5 separate regions of the Homo sapiens genome follow, and all the other regions are linked to region 1. Evidence: promoter capture Hi-C in human tissues and cell types (Jung and others, 2019). All regions are on one chromosome and are shown on one strand. Each heading gives the region's core, a stretch centred on a gene start or on the middle of the fragment in contact. The rest is flanking DNA. Distances are from core to core; before and after follow the strand shown.

What was found. The method cuts DNA at HindIII sites, captures the fragments that hold promoters and counts their contacts. A contact is called where the count stands out against the background at its distance.
Region 2: a contact is called between the fragment with the promoter of ZNF837 here and the fragment with the promoter of ZNF417 in region 1, in 1 of the 25 tissues and cell types used here (stomach).
Region 3: a contact is called between the fragment with the promoter of ZNF773 here and the fragment with the promoter of ZNF417 in region 1, in 1 of the 25 tissues and cell types used here (spleen).
Region 4: a contact is called between the fragment with the promoter of ZNF211 here and the fragment with the promoter of ZNF417 in region 1, in 2 of the 25 tissues and cell types used here (lymphoblastoid cells and pancreas).
Region 5: a contact is called between a fragment that was not itself captured here and the fragment with the promoter of ZNF417 in region 1, in 1 of the 25 tissues and cell types used here (spleen).

What each region holds. Positions count from the first base shown.
Region 1 is chr19:57,915,342-57,918,081 of GRCh38, forward strand. ZNF417 (zinc finger protein 417) reads right to left here and starts at 1,251. Exons shown (of 3, transcript NM_152475.3): 1 at 1,038-1,251. The coding sequence starts at 1,070. RefSeq lists enhancers at 1,008-1,297, 1,316-2,171, 1,568-1,627. The HindIII fragment of the contact is 14,944 bases long and covers 1-2,740 here.
Region 2 is chr19:58,379,713-58,382,452 of GRCh38, forward strand. It overlaps ZNF837 (zinc finger protein 837), which reads right to left and starts at 1,318. Exons shown (of 3, transcript NM_138466.2): 1 at 1,229-1,318. RefSeq lists enhancers at 42-583, 400-629, 584-1,125, 660-719 and a silencer at 1,070-1,579. The HindIII fragment of the contact is 47,170 bases long and covers 1-2,740 here.
Region 3 is chr19:57,498,624-57,501,363 of GRCh38, forward strand. It overlaps ZNF773 (zinc finger protein 773), which reads left to right and starts at 1,315. Exons shown (of 4, transcript NM_198542.3): 1 at 1,315-1,490. The coding sequence starts at 1,458. The HindIII fragment of the contact is 9,164 bases long and covers 1-2,740 here.
Region 4 is chr19:57,631,823-57,634,562 of GRCh38, forward strand. ZNF211 (zinc finger protein 211) reads left to right here and starts at 1,346. Exons shown (of 4, transcript NM_006385.5): 1 at 1,346-1,614; 2 at 2,201-2,239. The coding sequence starts at 1,525. RefSeq lists enhancers at 946-1,035, 1,106-1,155 and a silencer at 1,596-1,665. The HindIII fragment of the contact is 12,794 bases long and covers 1-2,353 here.
Region 5 is chr19:57,655,140-57,657,879 of GRCh38, forward strand. It overlaps a transcript of ZSCAN4 not described here. Among named protein-coding and RNA genes, the nearest start is that of ZSCAN4, 12 kb to the right of the region's middle. The HindIII fragment of the contact is 8,692 bases long and covers 1-2,740 here.

The DNA of each region.
Region 1 (2,740 bases), core at 1-2,500:
AATGCACAGCCCTCGGCCTGCTTACTCTTCCAGGGAGAGCTCCACCTCACACTTTGTTCCAGACAGGTTCCATCCTCCCGGCTCCGTCCATCTCCAGGCCATTGCCTGCGCCCCTCCCTGTGCTTGTTGCTCTCCCCACCGCATCCCACGGGTGTCAGAAACAGGTGAAACCGTCTTTGCAAAATTATAACTGAGGAAATTATGACAGTGAAAGAAATCAGACCTTACTGACTCCGTCTTGCTTCCAACCTTTCAGCTGTCCTTGTTCATTCCTGGGTATAGGCTGAATTAACTTAGGGAAGGAATTCAGTTCATGGTTTCACTCTGAAACAAAATTGATAATAGCCCTTTCCTGAAAAGACCCCCTTCTTGCCTGGAGAACAGCCTGCCTTTGCAGGACTAACGAATTAGCTACAAGGTTAGAAATTACCGTTTAGGGGTCATGCAGCTTCTGACTCCAAGAGTCTGAACCTCCCCAAGTTGCTCCTGAAGATAAATCACTATTGTAAAACCTAAGATCAGTGCTTGAGGTATTTTGCAGATCCTGCACTGGATGGATCAGCTGACAACACACAGACCGGTAATCTGGGTCAATCAGTTCTGCCATCCCACCCAGAACAGAAAACAGCATGAAAAACTCACTTTAACCCTCTATGAATCCATCTCAGGTCCCAACCCTTACCGCCAAATTAATGTTGAAAACTCTGATCCCGGAATGCTAATGGAGACTGATTTGAGTAATAATAAAACTCCTGTCTCCAGAACAGCCTGACGGCTCTGCGTCAATTACTATTTCTCCATCGCAATTCTCCAGTCTTCATAAATCGGCTCTGTCTAGGCAGCTGGCAAGGTGAACCCACTGGACAGTTACACAGGGACCCCCACTGGACAGTTACACAGGGACCCCTCCTGCGAGCGCCTCAGTGTTCCTACGCCGGGTACCGGCTACAGACCCGTGAGCAGGAGCCGCTCCCTCGCTGGTTTAGGACCTGGGTGACGATGGGGTGACCTGAGGGCACAGAAGGCGCCACAATTACCTGAGTCGGGCGCCTCGGCGCAGCCGCTGCCATCGGACTACTTGGGGAAGCACGGCCCGGGAGCAGTGGTCGCCGTCACGGGGCTGCAGAGCCGCCTCTGGGCACCGAGGACGATTCCTCTCCACCTTCTAGGTTCAGTCACCGCGGTCCCCCCCCAGCACTCAGGGGCCACAAACTGGGGAAACACCCGCGTCACCGATACACAGCCGCTACTAGAGACCCCGGAAGTCTCAGCCTTACGTTACGTGCACACGTGGAAATGCCTTCTTTCCGAGTGCTCATTGGCTCTGACCGGCTGTCGTTTAACGCAGAGCTTTCTGGGTAATGTAGTTCCCCACTTTCCATGGCGCTAAAAAGAGCGATACCCAGAGTCCATCTGCAGGAAAAGCCCGCCATCAGGTCAGGGGTTCTCCTTAAAAAGCGCACCCTTCTGGCCGGGCGCAGTGGCTCAAGCCTGTAATCTCAGCACTTTGGAAGGCGGAGGTGGGCGGATCACGAGGTCAGGAGATGGAGACCATCCTGGCTAACACGGTGAAACCCCGTGTCTACTAAAAATTCAAAAAAAAAAAAAGTTAGCTGGGTGTGGTGGCGGGCGCCTACAGTCACAGCTACTCTGGAGGCTGAGGCTGGAGGAGAATGGCGTGAACCTGGGAGGCAGAGCTTGCAGTGAGCTGGGATCGCGCCACTGCCCTCCAGCCTGCGCGACAGAGCAAGACTCTGTCTCAAAAAAAAAAAAAAAAAAAAAAAAAAAAAAAAAAAAAAAGGCGCCTTTCTAGGGCAGAGGAGGGGTCTCACCTAGCCTTAGAAGCCGTATTGAGATTCCTGGAGACTAGTGTCTGTAACTAATCACTCAAGAATCTGGAAAAATACTGTTTCAGATTTCGGGGAGCGCAAGGTAAATAATAGGGAGCTCAAGCTAAAACTATTATTTAGGATTCTCCTAAAGGCTAAAAATCCAAATTACCACACCGTTTGAAACAGTCGTTCAGTCGCAAAATACCTGCACTGGAAGCAGAGGCTGATAAGCGTTGTTGTGTTATAATGTGTCTGAAGGCCCTCAGAAGCCTTAGAGTGCCTAAGGCAAATGAAGGAAGTTAGGGATGTGCTCCCCTATAGCAGGAGTGCAAAGCTGAATCTCTGTGATTCCTACAGAAAACAACTCTCCTGCTGATAGAATCTGTGAAAGGAAAATCTTGTGGCCTCAAAATTACTAAGCTAAAGGGAAAAGTCAATCTGGGAACTGCTCAGGGCAAACTTGCCTCCCATTCTATTCAAAGTCTTCCCTCTCCTCACTGAGATAGATGCCTATTCTGATTGCCTCCTTTGGAAGGACTTATCAGAAATTAAAAAGAATCCAACTATTTGTCTCTCTACCTGTCTACCTGTGACCTGGAAGTCCCCTCCCTGCTTCGAGTTGTTCCCGCCTTTCTGGTCGGAACCAATGTACTTCTTACATATATTCACTGATGTCTCATGTCCCCCTAAAATGTATAAAACCAACCTGTACCCCAACCACCATGGGCACATGTCGTCAGGACTTCCTGAGGCTGTGTCACGGGCATGTGTCCTCAACCTTGGCAAAATAAACTTTTTCTTTTATGAGACGGAGTCTCGCTCTTTGGTCAGGCTCGAGTGCAGTGGCGCGATCTCGGCTCACTGCAACCTCTGCCTCTCGGGTTCAAGTGATTCTCCTGCCTTAGCCT
Region 2 (2,740 bases), core at 68-2,567, 460 kb after region 1:
ACGTGGCCAAGGCTGAGCCCTGCAGAACTGCAGAGCAACAGCACACACAGGAAAGCTAGTGAGGTTCAACATCCTCATGGAGGTTGCACACGGCACAATGAGGTCTTATTTGCCCAAGAGAATGTGCAGGGAAGTCGCCAGGCACGGTGGTGCATGCCTGTAATCCCAGCTACTCGGGAGGCTGAGGCTGGAGAATCGCTTGAACCCGGGAGGCGGAGGTTGCAGTGAGCCGAGATCGCGCCACTGCACTCCAGCCTGGGCAACAAGAGCGAAACTCCGTCTCAAAACAACAACAACAACAACAACAACAAAAACAGAATGTGCAGGGAAGTCAACGTTGGTGGCTCTGAGGTGTGGAGGACACAGGCTAGTGCCCAGCTCAGCGTGGCTCCACCTCTCTGAGCCACAGACCAACCTCACCCACACTGACAGTCCCAGGGGACACAGACTCTAGCCCCTATGTCCAATTCTACACTGTGCACGCAATGGGAAGAACAGTGCATCATGCACTGTACAGCAGAAGAAATGTCCTCTGAGTGCAGGCACAGCTCCCTTCTGTGTCTGTCCTCCCGACAGTGCCTCCACCCTCAAGGATTAGCAAGCTTCAACCCTCGCAGGACATCCACTGTGTCAGGGCCAAACGGTGCTGCATCCTGCTCTAATAGTGAGTGAAGGAGGGGACCGCAGACAAGAAGAAATGAACAAGAGACCGTTTAAGAGAGAAAAAGACGTGAAGAACATCAGACAGGGAGCAGCGCGAGGGCGCCAGGGAGGGAGGCAGCGGATTCTTCGGGCCTCTGTGAAGAGGGGGCATGAAACCGGTCTGCAGACAAGGAAAGAGCAAAGTGCAAAGGCCAGGATGCGGGGGCAGAGACGGTAGGGAGGCCGGCGTCGGCCTCGGCTAGCAGGTGGGCTTGACTCCGAGAGCCGCAGGCCGCCAGGATGGGTCCCGGGCCTGGAGCCTCCCCTCGCGGGCTTCAATGACACCCAGCACGGAAACGCGGGGGCCAGAACTACAGAAGCCCGTCCCGCCCGGAACTCAAGGTCGCGAGTGCTGTGTGGCCGGTCCGGACCCGGAGCGCGAGGACCGGAAGTGCGCGGCGTCACGCCTCTGCCCCGGACCCCGCGCGCGGAGGTGGAGAGGGGACTGGGGTGGTGGCCGCGCTATGCGCCGGGAGGTCCCCGCCTCGCAGGCCGAGGTTGCGGGTCCGCGCAGAATGCCACTTACTCTCTGGAGGCGGCCCGCACGGGTCCCTGGTCCCCGCCCCGCATGCAGCGCGGAGCCGTCCTCCCGCCACCTCCGGGCCGCCGCGGCACTGAGGGACCCGGGCCACAGCAAGCGCAGGCGGGAACCCGCGCGGGGACTGCTGGGAAACGTAGTCCCGTCATGTCCCGCTTTGACGCTGCGGAGAAAGCGGTGTAGGGAGAGGCTTGGGCTTCGGTTATCATAGAAACAGAGGCCGGCTACACCTAAAAGGCGGGGCGTGGACCTAAGTCGTCGCCAAAGAAACGGCGTTCTGGACGGGGACGTAGGGTCCCGCCCATTCCTTCTCGTGAAAGCGGGTGACTGGTCATGATTATGATTGATAGCCTCCTCTCCCAATCTGATTTCTAAGAGGTCCCAACCCGGAACCGACTTGCGGTTCGCAGGCTCCCCTCGGGTGGGAGAGTTGGGCTGGGAAGCACCTGGGGAGCTCTGAAGTGTCTTGGTGAGCGCGTTGCGAGTCAGACCGATAACATCAGAATCTGGGACTGGGCCCGAGCATATGCGCGTCAAAACTCCTCAGTTAAGTCTATTTTTTTGTATTTTTTTTGGTTTGCTTTTTTGAGACGGGGTCTCGCTCTGTCGCCCAGGCTAATGCAGTGACACCATCACGGTTCACTGCAGCCTCGACCTCCTGAGCTCAAGCGATCCTCCTACTTCAGCCTCCAGAGTAGCTGTTAACAGGGGCGCGCGCCACCACGCCCGGCTAATTTTCTTTCTTCTCTCCCTCCCCCTCCTTCTCCCCCTCCCTTCCTCCTCCCACTATGTCGCCCAGGCTGGTCTCGAACTCCTGTACTGAAGCGACCCTCCCACCTCACCCTCCCGAATAGCTGGGACTATAGGTGGGAGCCACCATGCCTGGATAGTTTTTTTATTTTTATTTATTTATTTATTTTAGAGATAGGGTCTCCATATGTTGCCCAGACTGGTCTGGAACTCCTGGGCTCAAGCGATCCTCGTGTCTCAGCCTTCCAGAGTGCTGGGAGTACAGGCTTGAGCCACTGCGCCAGGCCCCTAGTCCGGCTCCTAGTTGATTCTAACACGTGCGGCCCCATTGGGGAACCACAGCCTCCCCAGCCCCTTTGGGTGTTGCTGACTCTACGGGCCCTCCCAGGTAGGATGAACTGGTCACGCCTCCTACCCATTTGTAACCCCCAGCTCTTGCCCCCATCTATTGTGTGGCTCCTGCCCTCAATAGGGACATCTAATTTTGTTGGCCAGTCCAGCACATATATTGCATGTAACGACCCAGTTTGCCCCACCTTTCTGCCTCCACTGCATCTGCTTCAGGGATGCTGGGACTGTTCCACTCCCTTTCTCCATCCTTTGGGTGTCTGCACATCGAAAGCCTTGTCAGGAGGTCTATCTCCCTGCCCAAGTACAAAACTCAGGGCTTACCAAGCTAATTGAGGGCGAGCAGGAGGCTGAAGGGCACTTGGAGGGCTGCCCGCCTTGTGGGTCCCTTGGTGGCTGAAG
Region 3 (2,740 bases), core at 65-2,564, 420 kb before region 1:
TTAGCCAGGATAGTCTCGATCTCCTGACCTTGTGATCCACCCGCCTTGGCCTCCCAAAGTGCTGGGATTACAGGCGTAAGCCACCACCTCCCTACTCTTTCTACCCAATAAATATGAAGGTCTGTGGAAGCTCAGGGCCCTTCCTCACTAGAAGCAAGAAGCCCCCTGACCCCTTCTTTAAAACAGATTTATTTTGCCTTTGTTTTCATTTCTGCATTCGTTCCCCTTCGTTCAGTCCCATAGTAACTGTGACAGGAATATGGAGCAGAAATGGATGAAGGGGAGAAATTGAGGGGGAGTTGGCTTATGGGTTTGCTGCCTGTTGTTGTGCCTTTACACCAATGTTGGGTCCTTGAGGAAGGAAAGAACACAAATGAGAATGGGGTGAAAGAGGAACGTAAATCCTTGGGCTCCCCTACTCTCTCATCACCTACATCCAGAATTCAGAGCCTTTTCTTATTATCATACATCAGGCATTAATATTGGGTGTCCCCTTGCCAAAGGAAATTTAGGAAGGTATACGTGGCTTTGCCCAGTGAAACCTCTTTATGGTGGCCCTGAAGATCCTCTTCAAGTCCTTCAAAAGAAGGAAAGATTGGAGTATCAGCTGCAGGAAACTGAAATCCAGGCCCATCTCCAATTACAACAGGTTCCAGATGAGTCCGAGAGTTCTCGACACTCATTTCTCCTCCATCTCCTACTCCATCATCTCCATCTCCATCTTCTCCATCATCTCCATCTTCATCATCATCTCCATCTCCATCATCTCCATGTCCATCATCATCTCTATCTCCATCATCTCCATCTCCATCATCTCCATCTCCATCATCATCTCTATCTCCATCATCATCTCTATCTCCATCATCTCCATCTCCATCATCTCCATCATCTCCATCTCCATCTCCTACTCCATCATCTCCATCTCCATCTTCTCCATCATCTCCATCTTCTCCATCATCTCCATCTTCTCCATCATCTCCATCTTCATCATCTCCATTTCCATCATCTCCATCTCCATCATCATCTCTATCTCCATCATCTCCATCTCCATCATCTCCATCATCTCCATCTCCATCTCCATCTCCATCATCTACCGTCTCCAATCTCCATCTCCGAAGTTATGCCCACTTCCTCGAAGTTTGGAGCCACGCGAACTACACTGCCCAGAAGGCGCCGCGCCGTGAGCCGCGATGCTTGGCCAATGAAAAGAGGTCTACCCGAGAGTGCGACGCGCAATGGGCGGGACTTCCGGCGTCTCCCCTCGGCGGTTGCTTTCGCTGCCCTCAAGAGAACTCAGCTTGCCGGAAGCTGGTTGTTCGCTGCGGCGACCAGCTCCGGAAAGCGCGGTGGGGACGCGCTGTGTTCTCGCAGCTCAGAGGCGGGTCTGAGGCTCGGTGGCGGCGCCCAGGGTGGCCCGGGCCCTTTCCTCGGTCGTTGTCTCACCGCCACAGGCTCCGATGGCGGCGGCCACGCTGAGGGACCCCGCTCAGGTGAGCGCCGCGTCCTCCCGGCCTCCCCCGAATCCTAAAGCCCTGTGAGGGCCGCCTGCTCAGGTCCCCGGGTGCAGAACTGTGGGGCGTTCGTGGGCGGCGTCCCGTTTCTGACACGCAGTGTGATGGGGTGGCAATGGAGGGCAAGGGGCCCGGCTCGCAAAGATGTGAGGCGCATTCAGCGAGTCCCGAACCTGAGGCCTCCTGGTGTCTGTAGTGGGCAGCTTGGGAAGGGACGAGGCGCGTGTCGAGCGACAGCCCGAGCAGCTGCGCTTTCATCCTGAGGGGGCCACAGTGGCCGCGGAGGGCTGGAGACAGAAGAGTGACAAGATCTGTTTCTCAAAGTTTGCCAAAGGCCCTTCAAGTCAAAACAGACTGGGGTGGGGGTGAGGCGGGTGAAGACAGACCTGTGAGTAGGTAAATTCAGTAGACTAGTGGAGAGTCTACTGGGACTGGGCCACAGAGGAGGGGAAGTGATCAGATCTTGGATGGATTTCAAAAACTGAACAGACGGGAATTCCTGTTGCATCAGATGTGACTGTGAAAGAAAGTAGGGAATGAAGAGCCATTCTGGATTTTTATTTGTATTTTTGTTTGTTCCTGAATATCAGGAAGGATGGAGATGGGTAAGGCTGTGCAGGGAATAGGTTTTGGGCATGGTGATCCTGAGATGTCCCAGAGTGGAGGTGTCATGTCCACATGAGCAGCTGGAAGGCCTGGGGCTCGTATTTAGGAGGGAGAATCTTAAAGTTTTCTTTCAGATGGTCCCTGAGGTGAGGGAAGGGAGAGATGGGCCTGTAGGATGGGGCAGCCTCTACAGCCTGGAGTTTCGTGGTCCGAAGTGATTTTGTCTGGTGCCTGCAGGAATGGAGGGTTATAGAGTATGAACACCCAGGACTGGATGGAGACCGCAGTGTTGGGTAGTATATAGGTTTGCCACTCCAGGCTTAGTAGTTCCTCATGTCCAGTCCATATGGAGAAAAGGAAAGGTCAGCCAGGCTGGTGGAGCAGCACCTTTGGTGCCTAAGTTTCCCTAGCTATCAGCACAGGTGGGATGATCAACTGCTCCAGTAGAAGGGAGGGCTCTCAGCAGGATGGTCTTCAGGGGAGTATATAGCAGGCAGCCAGATTGCCAAAAGGAAACCCACATTGTCTTTCTTTTTCTTTCTTTTTTTTTTTTTTTTGAGACAGAATTCTGCTCTTGTGATCTGCCCACCTCGGCCTCCCAAAGTGTTGGGATTACAGGCTTG
Region 4 (2,740 bases), core at 96-2,595, 280 kb before region 1:
CGGGTGTGGTGGTGTGCTTGTAGTGCCAGCTACTCAAGAGGCTGAGGTGGGAGGATCACTTGAGCCCAGGAAGTGGAGGCTGCAATGAGCTATGATTGTTCCACTGTACTCCAGCCTGGACAACAGAGTGAGACCCTGTCTCAAAAAAAAATTAAATGTTTTGATTATACAAGGAAAATGAACATTCATGTATTAAAGCTTCATGTTTTATGAACAAAACTGACTTTGCAGGCAGGAGAGCGTTTTCTGGGGGCACCAGAAGCAGGGAACTTCCCTTGTCCGTTGGCTTCAGGGCTGCCCACTATCCCTCCACTATCTTCCCATTGTAGCCCTGTCTGGTGTCTTTTGTCCCTGACAAAACCTACAAAAAGTGACTTTAACACTTCAGGCTGCATGCATTTGAAGAGCAATAAGATAACGTTTTTTCGCTTCCCACTACCAGTGGAGATCTGCTGGGGTGGGCTGCATGGAATCTGAAATGATGTCTAAATACTGAAGTGAACCTCTACACTAGAGACTGATATACAGCTGACCCTTAAACGACGCAGGGGTCAGGGATACCGACCCCTGCGGAATTGAAAATGCTTGTATTACTTTTGACTCCCCTAGGTCTTAACTACTAATAGCCAACTGTTGCCCGGAAGCCTTATGAAGTTGCCCGGAAGCCTTATGAATTACATAAACTCCCAGTCGATTAACACATTTTGTATGATATATGCATGATATATGCATAATATATATGATATATGCATTTTGTATGATATATGCATTATATATATTTTAGTATAAGAACTATACTTGTACTAAAACAGACCAGAGAAAGGGTATCAGGAAAATTGTAAGAGGCTCGTTGACATTACACCCAATTAAAAAAAGGAAAATAAAAGAATACGGAAGGGAAAATACATTTACTAATCATTAAGTGGAAGTGGATCATCATAAAGGTCTTCATCCTTGTGTTCTTCATGCTGGGCAAGAGAATGAGGTCTTGCTGTCTCTGGGGCAAGAGGTCGGGGAGCTGGAAGAGGCAGGAAAAGGAGCACACTCGAAGTAACGTTTATTGGGGAAAAAAAACGCCTACGTGTAAATGGACCCGCACAGCTCAAACCTGTGTTGTTCAAGTGTCAACCTACTTAAGACCTCAAACACCGAAGCCCCTCAGTCGCCCTGGAAGGCAGCAGACGCAGCTTCCTAGCGCTCCCAGCTGTCTGCACACAAGGCGCCCTCCGTCGCAGCCTGGGGGAGACTACATTACCCAGAAAGCCTTGCGTCGAGCGGCAGTACTTTGATCCAATGAAAATCCAAGACAGGGGCATTTCCGTGTGGGTCTACCCCCGCCCCCCCCAGGGCGGGACTTGTGGCGTCTTCGCAGCGGTCATTTTGGCTGCCCTCCCGGAGGTCCGTTCTGTCTGTCAGCCGCTTTGGTACGCTGCATCGGGATCGAAGTGACGGACCGTGAAGGCGCGAGAGTCAGGTCTGAGGGTCGGGGGCAGAGCCGCCCGCGAGGCCGGCCTGGGGATAGCGATGCTCGGGTTCCCCCCGGGTCGCCCGCAGCTCCCGGTCCAGCTCCGCCCACAGACTCGGATGGCGACCGCACTGAGGGACCCGGCTTCGGTGAGCGCTGCGATCTCCGGGCCTCCCCCGGCCGAGATTCTTAAGTCCCAAGTGAGAGGCACCAGCTCACGTCTCTGTAGCACAGGGTCGGGGACACTGAGGCTCGTGGGTGGGGCCCCTATTTCTGACATCCGATGTGGTGGGCAGGGGGACAAGGGACAGGACCGGCGCGTGCAGGGCTTGGACGGGCAACCGAGAAGGGGGCATTCAGGAACCTGGGCTCCACATTGTTACTGCAGGGAACAAAGTTTGAGAGAGATCTACCTTTATTCTTAGGGCCGTGGGAGCCATAGAGAGCTTGCGCAAACGAGAGACACCATCTGAGTTAAATTTGAAAAATCCTCTGCAGGCTGTTCAGTGGAAGAAAAGACTTTAGAGATGGATGAGGACGTTGAGGCAGAGGGAGGTTGAATATTTTTCCAAGGCCACACAACTGGTGAGAGGCAGCACTAAGGACCGAGGCGCACAGGTTAGACAGTCGACCCAAAGTTACGTGGCTCTGGGCCGGGGCAAGGGTACAGGGAAGGCCTGTGCCCATGGAGCACTGCCATGATCACATTCCTCTGAGGCCTGCGTCTTTCCACAGGTTCCCATAGCTACAGAGGTGCTTTTCAAACTTACACAGGTAAGTGGAGGTATCTCAGCCCCTCACTGGTCTGGAATGTCCCTCCACCCTCCCCAGACAGATATTTTCTTTAGATTTGTGGTGTCATGGGACTCACCTACCATTCTCTCAGCGTTTGGTTTGGGAACCCTGGAGAATCCCTGAGCTAAGGGCCCTGAGTCCAGGCCAATGTTTCCATTTGGAGCAGCCAATGGAAAGATGGGTGAAAATTTATGATAGAAACAGGTAGGTACCAGCTTTTGGAACTCCTTGGAGGTGAGGCTGAGCTGGTTCAGGGAACTGCAGGTTTCCTTTATTTCTGTGAAGTTTGGCATCTATTGTGAGGAAGTTGGAGTTTGGGATCAGAGGAGGGAGATTTATCTAACCCAAGTGTTGACAGGATACAGAGTGGAAAACAGAATGAACACAGTGACTAATGGGAATGTGAAGAGACAGCAGGGATCAATGACACCAAGGTCTGGTGTCTCTTCTGACTTGGGGATCTTGGGAGGAGAATGTATG
Region 5 (2,740 bases), core at 153-2,652, 260 kb before region 1:
CTAATCCGGGATATGCCCCTTTCTCATACAAAGAACCTCCTTTCCTTCTTGAGCCTTGTGGGATACTTCTGGCTATGGATTCCCAACTTGCTGACCAAGCTGCTGTACACCACATCACGTGGGCCCATCCTAGAACACCTGGATCCAGTCTGTACCATTGACTCCCAGTTCAAAAAACTGAAAAATGCCCTTTCAATGTCGCCAGCACTGGGACTACCCAACCCCAACAAGCCCTTTACTCTGTATGTTCATTCTAACCAAGGCCTTGTTCTTGGGCTACTCTGTCAAACATTCAGCGGTACCCCACAAGCCATTGTATATCTCTCAAAACAACTGAACTCAGTCATCTAAGGTTGGCCACCCTGTTTAAGGATCTTATGTGTGTCTATGCTGCTGGCCTCAGAAGCTCAAAAACTCACCCTCTATCAATACATTACCATTGCACCTTCTCATAACCTACAGGAACTCATGAGTCATTGCTCCCTTCTTTCCCTCCTGCTATCTTACTTACAACAAACACACACCTCCTACATAAACAACCTTCTAATCACCTACCAAAGATGTAAAGTTCTCAACCCAGCCACCCTCTTCCCTATAAGGACCTTTGACTCTGAACTCTGTCACTCCTGCTTGGACTTTTTAGATTCCCTTTCCTTCCCTTTCCGACACATATCAGAGACCCCCTTACAGGGGACACCTACATGGTTCATTGATGGGAGCTCCTTTAAAGAGCCATGTCTTGCAGCAGGCTACACCATCGTTGCCAAACACAAGCTCCTAGAGTCCAATACTGTCGCATCCCCTACCACCTCCTAACAGGCAGAATTAGTCGACCTAACTAGGGCCCTCACCCTAGCAATAGGAAAAAGGGTCAATATTTACACTAACTGTAAGTATGCATACCACATTCTACACTCCCAAGCCTTAATCTCACAGGAAAGAGCTTTTCTTAGTACCAAAGGGACCTGCATAGTAAATGGCAAACTGATACACAGGTTGCTGGAGGTAGCTAAACTACCATTAGAGGCCACCATTATCCATTGCAATGGACACCAGAGAGCTACAGATGCCATAACCAAGGGAAACATTATGGCAGACTCAGCAGCCTGGCAGGTGGCCCACAACATCCCATCACTGTTGTCCATTTTCCCAGCAGACATCCCTCATACACCCAGGAGGAACAAGTCAAACTAACACTGGGGCTACCCAAAGGGAAGGCTGATGTTATCTTGACACAAACTCATCCTGCCCAAATCTCAAGAACTCTCTATTCCCTCCCACATCCACAACCACTTCCATGCTGGTTATTACCACATACCCCAGTTTTTAAAAACTTACACACACTCCACCACCATGACAACCAACCTTGAATGTTTAACCAGTCTGCCCAGTTTGTGGTCAGACTTCCCCTGAAGGGGCTCTTAAACCACCTCCTTTCTCCACTCATCAGGCATGAGGCCATTTCCCAGAACAGGACTGGCAAGTTGACTTCACCCATATACCCCCTGTAAAAAAAGGAAAGGGCCAACTACAGCCTGGGAAAAATATTTGTGAAACCTCTATCTAATAAATGATGAGTATTCAGAATACGTAAAACATCCCTACAAATAGCATAAACAACACAATTTAAAAATAGGCAAAAGTTCAAGACCAGCCTGGGCAACATGGCAAAACACTGTTTCTACAAAAATTAGCTAATAAGCTGGGCATGGTGGTGTGTGCCTGTGGCCCCAGCTACTTGGGAGGCTGAGATGGAAGGATCACTGATTCCAGGGAGGTCGAAGCTTCAGTGAGCTATGATCAAATCACTGCACTCCAGCCTGGGCAACAGGGTGAGATATCATAGCTGTAATTCCAACGCTTTGGGGGGCTGAGGAAGGCGGATCACTTGAGGACAGGAGTTCAACATCAGCCTGGCCAACATGGTGAAACCTCGTCTCTAGTAAAAATACAAAAATTATCCGGGAGTGTCCAGGAGTGGTGGCAGGCACCTGTAATCCCAGCTACTCAAGAGGCTGAGGCAGGAGAATTGCTTGAACCCGGGAGGCAGAGGTTGCAGTCAGCTGAGATCGCGCCACTGTACTCCAGCCTGGGCAACAAGAGTGAAACTCCGTCTGCCCTCCGTCTGTCTGCAACAGAGCTAGACTCCATGTCAAAAAAAAAAAAAAGGCAAAATATTTGAACACATTTTTCACTAAAGATGATATATGAATGGTATATAAATGCATGAAAATAAGTTCAGAATTATTACTATTTAAGGAACTACAAATGAAAACCACAATGAGATACCACTACATACTCATTTTGATGAGTAACATTAACCGAATGATCACACCTAGCTGTTGAAGGTATGAAATAAACTGGAGCTCTCATACATTGCTGGTGGAAATGCAAAATAAATAAATTTGGAAAACACTGTAGCCGTTATTAAAGTTAGTTGTCCACTTATCATTTGATAAATTAATCTCATTCCTAAGTATAACCTCAAGAGATGGAAACGTGTCCATAGAAATACTTGTATAATCATTCCTCAGTATCCATGGGGGACTGATTCCAGGACCCCCAAGGATACCAAAACCTGAAGATGTTCTAGTCTCTTATATAATATGATGTGGTATTTGCATATAACCTGTGTATATCCTCCCACATAATTTAAATTATAATTTAAATTACTTATAATACCTAATACAATGCAAATGCTGTTTAAATAGTTGCTATACATTGTCACCTAATACAGTGT